Linked DNA regions of Homo sapiens: region 2 is linked to region 1. Evidence: promoter capture Hi-C in 16 types of primary human blood cells and fetal thymus (Javierre and others, 2016). All regions are on one chromosome and are shown on one strand. The core of a region is centred on a gene start or on the middle of the fragment in contact, and the rest is flanking DNA. Distances in the headings are between cores, read along the strand shown.

The links. The method cuts DNA at HindIII sites, captures the fragments that hold promoters and counts their contacts. A CHiCAGO score of 5 or more calls a contact.
Region 2: a contact is called between a fragment that was not itself captured here and the fragment with the promoter of SH3BGRL2 in region 1, in 2 of 17 cell types (erythroblasts and megakaryocytes). The highest score is 7.7, in erythroblasts.

What each region holds. Positions count from the first base shown.
Region 1 is chr6:79,629,883-79,633,060 of GRCh38, reverse strand. It overlaps SH3BGRL2 (SH3 domain binding glutamate rich protein like 2), which reads right to left and starts at 1,732. Exons shown (of 4, transcript NM_031469.4): 1 at 1,555-1,732. The coding sequence starts at 1,599. The HindIII fragment of the contact is 2,885 bases long and covers 1-2,033 here.
Region 2 is chr6:79,095,608-79,098,751 of GRCh38, reverse strand. No RefSeq gene overlaps it. Among named protein-coding and RNA genes, the nearest start is that of PHIP, 19 kb to the right of the region's middle. The HindIII fragment of the contact is 2,244 bases long and covers 324-2,567 here.

The sequences.
Region 1 (3,178 bases), core at 483-2,982:
TACTACCTACTAATAGAGTAAGCCAAGTCATTACCTTGACTTGGTCCGACTTGCTCCAAAGTAGCCTAGGCTTTATCTCTTGTGGAAGGGATAAAAACCATTCCTTCCATAATCAATATAATGCTATTGGGACAATTATTGAAGCATGCAAGTCGGTGGTGAAACCAAGAGCTTTGTAGCATTCTTAGTAAGGAGTGCATTTGAACAAATCTACCCTTGAAACAGTGCCAGTTTGCAAACACATGAAGTGTGGCTTCAGTGGGGAAATCTACAAAAGGCAGGCATGACTAAGCAACCCAAATAGCTAGAAACACCAGAAACTGTCAGAAGTCTGAGGACCCCAACATGACTGCACATAAGTGTAAGTTGGATTTTCCCATCTATTGTTTCTAGTGCAAATGGGGGTGGAGGGGCTTTGTATGATCGTGTTGGTTTCTTTTTAAATAAAAAACTTCAGTGGTGTACAAGGATTTTCAAACAATATTTTATTCCATCCTCCACTCCACCCACTTAAGAAACAAATTTTGGAACAATCTGACTGAGCTACTGGGCAGACAATTGACCAGACCAAATTTAAGCAATCTACAATGCACTTTTTGATGTTACTTGATTATATATGTCACAAAGGAGGCTCTTAAATCTATAGCTGAACTCTTGGTTAAGGAAACCAAGTCTCAATAATCATGTAAAACACATGTGCTATGTCCCTTAGTGGGCTGTCAAATATACTAACTACTGAATTTTCCTTAAATTCTGACATCTCTAGCTATTTAACTTTCCTTTCTTTAAAAAAATTTTTTTTCTCTAAAAAAATTCAAGAACATCCACCAAAGAGAATAGCTAAAAATAATTAAATAGAAAACCACAATTCATAGATCCCCAGGATAAAATTTCCACAGCATTACAGGTGGAAAGAAAATGCGTGCATACACACACATTTACATAAAGATGTAAAAATATTTATGGCACCCTAAGAAAAAAAATGACAGTGAAAGCAAACAATCCTACCACAACAGGACAAACCTAGTTTTACTATTCTCTTTGCGCAGGTATAAAACTAAACAAATGCACTTGCTGGCGGGGAAGGGAGGACAGAGAGCAATTCCCACTTAAACTTGCTTCATTCAGGAGCTAGGGTAACAAACCAAAGCAGCAGAAAAGGCTCCCGTGCAAAACATAACCAGTCTGAAGGTCCCAAATCGGGAAGAACTAAACTAGGGGAAGGGGGATCCCCGAAGCTCTTGAACAACCCGTTCCCCAAATTTCCATGCCACACAACAGGAGCTGGGGGCTTCCCTCGGACTCCATTTTCAGGCCGCGTTGTCTGCCTTTCAGGCCACGCAGGGTGGGCATTTGGGTGAGGCCGGGGTCCCCCACCCACCTTTCCTCCCCGCCCTCTTCATTGTTGTCGGAGTGTGATGGATCACCTGCCGGGCGCGGGCTCCCGCGGGCGGACCGGCTGAGCGCAAGGACGCGCAGTGACGAGCGCCGCGCGCCTCCCGCAGGACCCGCGCCCCGCGACCCCAACCTACTGCCCGCCCCCACCGCGCTCACCGCCACGAAGCCCGAGGAAGAGGCGATGAACACGCGGATGACCATCCTCTCGCTGCGCCCGGGACAGACCCCTTGCCCCCCGGGCTCCGGGCTGGCGTGGACGCAGAGCTGAACCCAGCTACGAGCCGCCGGCAGCCTCTGGGTAAAGCGCTGCCGTCGGGGAAGATCGCTGGGATCTGGCTCCCTCCCGGCGGGTCCGCAGATAAAAGCCCAGCGCCGCCCGGCCGCAGGCTGAAGGGGAAGGAGAGGGAGGAGGAGGGAGCCGGCTGCGGGGCTTGATGGGATTTGTAGTTTCCGTCTCTCCCTGGAGTGGCTGGTGGACTGAGCTCCCCTCCTGACCGCGCTTCTATCCCGAACACGCGCAGGTGGCTGGAGGGGAGCCACAGCCCGGGCAGAAGCTGTGAGGTGGGTTGGCAAGGATCCTGGCTTGATGAGGAAAAAGCAAACTAGGCAAAAGGGCTCGGTTCAAAGTCCAAGCTTGGGTTCTGTATTGTGGTTTATTGGTTTGGAGCATCCACACCCAGAAATGCCAACAGACACGATCGTGCTGCGGGCACACATCGTCTCAGGGCCGCTGGCGTACCGGGCAAACCCCAGCTACCTGAAGCAGGCGGGATCGGCGAGCCGGGTGCTTGGGAGGTGTGGGCGGTGGGGTTGGGCTCGTTTGTTTGTCCAGTAGCACTGGAGATTGCAGAAAGGTGATTCTTTTGGGTAAATGAGAGGTCTTCTCTTGTCTGTACACACTGAAAATTAGAAACCCAGATGGAAGCACAACCAATATTTTATTTTTCTCAGCAAAACTGTAATTGTAGTAGAAAAAAATAAATACCAAACGAAATTGGAATCCTTCTATCAACATTGGAAATCAGGACCCTACCTGCCCCACCCCTCCCTACACAATGGCTTCGCCTCTGTGCACCTAATATTTACAGTTCAGCCAAATCTGTGCCTTTTTCAGAACCGCTGCACATTCCAGCGCAGTTTCCCAGGAGGATGCTGTTAAATAAAAAGCTTCTATATAGTTGCTAATAGTTTAGGAATAGTTTTTTATCAAGTGCTTTCTGTTTGACAAAAGCTCAAGCCTCTCTCTCAGTTTTGTCGAAAGGAACCAGTTTTCCCTGCTGTACTGTATTTACTTTTTTCCTTTCAACACGGGAGTTTAGCAGAGGTCTGGGAACAATGTTAATTAAGAAAAAGTAAGAAATTAGATGATGAGGTCTCTGGCTCTTTGATACATTTCTTGCACAAAGAGCAATCATTATGAAGTATTTTTTAGAACAGTTATGAATATTTCAAATTTATAACCTTTCCTATTGCTTTTCTTAAAGCCATTTCTGTAGTAGGAATCTTTTTAAATTTCCTTCAATAATAGAAGAGACACTCCTAATGGGACTTTATTTCTTCTTCGTGTTTAAAATTTTAAATAGAAGTTTTGCTGTCTTTAGTATCTCTCGGCAAATGTACTTTAATTTTGCTACCATAAATGTGGAAATGCACGTTTATAAAATAGAAAATAATTTTCTTAAAAGTAGATACCGTATTTCCTATATAAATGCAAATCTTTATAAAAGTCAGCATTTTCTTCAGTTTGGAATTATTCAGCTATGAAGATATAGTTAAACTC
Region 2 (3,144 bases), core at 196-2,695, 530 kb after region 1:
CTCTATTAAATGGTTAAAAACATGTCTTCATGACATTCCAACTCACTCTGTTGGCAAAAAAAAAAAAAAAAAAAAAACAGAAAACAAAAGAGAATATGGCTTGTTTCCAAGCTTTTCTGCAAAGAATAGTGCAGTGGTGAAGAATTAGGCACAGCAGTTAAATCTTTTGCTTCATTTTTTTTTAAACAATTATGGAATGCATTCATCATACAAAGTCTTACTGTCAAATTGATCCCAATAGCTTACACTGAAGACCTTTAATGAAGCTGATGGGTGAAAATTATATAAGGCAAGCATCAGGCTAAATACAACAGTGGAAAGCTTCCTTCTCACCCCTCCTGAGAGAAAAATAAAATTTTTAAAAAGTATCAAAGTTTTAAAGTATTACTAAAAAAATAAGGAGAAAGTAAGAGAGACAAGTTGGCCAAACTTGGGTGAGATAAATGTTTTTAAAGTTTAAGAATGGACTTCTGTTTCCAGCCAAAATGAAGTAAGGATTGAATCTATTCTCCTTCCTGAAACAAAAACTGAATAAAATGTATGAAGCATTGGTTTTCAAGAAATTGGACTTAGGCAATGAACGACAGTGATCCTAAGACAATGGAAACAAATGAGATGAGCACCTGATTGTCTCAGCTTATTGCCTAGAAATAGTTTCCAGACTGGTACAGAACTGGAGGACTCCAGGAGGAGACTGCAGTCTCCCTGAGTTCAGGATGCATAGCAAGCAGTCCAGGGAGGCCGAGGTTGCTGAAGGTTGCCAGGCATAGAACTATATAAAAGGAGATTTCCTACATATACTTAGTTTACTCAAGAAGAAAGAGATCATTTTAGTAGTCATATACTAATTAAAGAAATTAAATTTTTAGCTAAAAATATTCCTATAGAAAAAATACCACGTTCAGATGGCTTCATAGGTAAATCCTAACTAGGCATATAAGGAAGATAATAATCTTACAAAAATTGCCAAAAAGTTAAAAAGGAAAAAATACTTCCCAACTCATTCTATGAGGCCAGCTTTACTCAAATATGAAAATCAAAATCAATCCAAGACTTTACAGGAAGCAACTACAGACTAACATTTTTCATAAAGATAGATTTTTTATAAACTTTTTTTTATAAAATGTAATAAAACATTAACAATCTGAATTAAAAAGTCGATTCCAACTGGGGTTTTCTCAGAAATGCAAGGTTGGTTTAACATTCAAAAATCTACCAGTGTAATTCGTTATATTAATTCACCAGTTTTCTCAGAAATTCAAGATTGGTTTAACATTCAAAAATCTACCAGTGTAATTCACCATATTAATAGACCAAAAAGGAAAACCATATGATCAACTTAGCAGGTCCAGAAAAAGTATTAAACAAAATCCACAGCGATTCCCGATTTAAAACAAAACAAGCAAACAAAAAAAAACTCTCAGCAAACTAGGAAGAGAAGGGAATGCCCTCAATCTGATAAACAGCATCTATGAAAGCTCACATTTAATATCAGATTTAATGGTGAAAGATTGTTTTTCTTCTAACATCAACAAAAAGGCAGTATGTCTGCTCTCACCATTTTTACTCTACATTTTATTGGAGATTAGAGTAAGGAAAAAAAATAAAAGGCATGTAGATAAGAAAAAAAAAGAAGAAGTGAAATTGCTGTTATTAACAACCAGATTCTCCTATATGGAACATTTTGTGAAATTACATAAAAGCTATTGGAACTAGTATAGTATTTTTTTGCAAGTTTGATGTTTATACATGCAACATCAGTATACAAAATTCAGTTGTTTTTCTGTATACTAGCAATGAACAACTGGAAATTAACATAAACTTTTTTTTTCTACAAAGAATCAAAGGCAATTCAGTGATCTGGGAATGGATATAATCATTGATATTATTCACCACAAGCCTTTCTGCAGATAAGAGAAGTCCATACTAAGTAACAAAACAGATTCAGACTTCCCATAGCTCATTAAAATTGCCCCATGAGTTGCAGGACTAGTATTTCTGATTCCTGGTAACTAATGAGATTGATAGCAATCTCATAAAAATCACAAAACTACTTCTTTCCATTACATTTATTCATTTAGAGACAGAGTCTATGTCACCCAGGCCAGAGTGCAGTGGTCCAATCTCTGTTCACTGCAATCTCCGCTTCCTGGGTTTTAGTGATCCTTCCACCTCAGCCTCTGGAGTAACTGGGACTACAGGTACACGCCCCCATACCTGGCCAATTTCTGTGTGTTTTTGGAGGTGGGTTTTCACCATGTTGCCCAGGCTGGTCTCAAATTCTTGAGCTCAAGCCATCCCTCTGCCTTAGCCTCTCAAAGTGCTGGGATTGCAGTCCTGAGCCACTGCACCTGTCTACCATTGCATTTAATTCTACATAGATAATCTAAGACTATTTGAAATTAGTTACCATGACTGACACTGTAAGTTCCGAATAGTTTGTCCTATATCTATAAATCCTAATTTTAAGGAAATTGATTGATTCAGTCGGAGTAATCAGTGATTTGTGCAGTCAGAGTTGTGTACAATAACAATATATATTTTTATCCGGATAAAAATACTAAGCTTTTAGTGTAAAAATGGACTAAAAATATTTAAACTAGTGGCTGAATTAAATATTAGCCCTTTAAGTGTTTAGTTTGTTCTTAGTTAATATAAATCAAAACAACTGGTAAGAAACAGCCAAACTGTCAGTTAACAACCAAGAGCATTTTTCCGAGAAGAGGAGTAAGATTTTCACTGGATTCTTAGAAGTGTTGTTACTCAAATGAGTTTTGAAAATCACTGAGTTAGAGATGTCTGTCACGGTATTTCAAAAATATTTTTCATAGAAGGGTGTCTTACTCCAAACAATACAGATATACTTAATTATTTATTTAACAACAACAATGTACTAGTTACTATTACTGGGTTTTTTTGTTTTTGTTTTTGTTTTTTGAGACAGAGTATAGCTCTGTTGCCAAGGGTGGAGTGCAGTGGCATGATCTTGGCTCACTGCAATCTCTGCATCCCAGGTTCAAGCGATTGTCCTGCCTCAGCCTCCTGAGAAGCTGGGACTACAGGTGTGCACCACTACACCCTGCTAATTTTTAGATTTTTAGGAGAGATGGGGTTTCACCATGTTGGCCAAGCTGGTCTCAAACT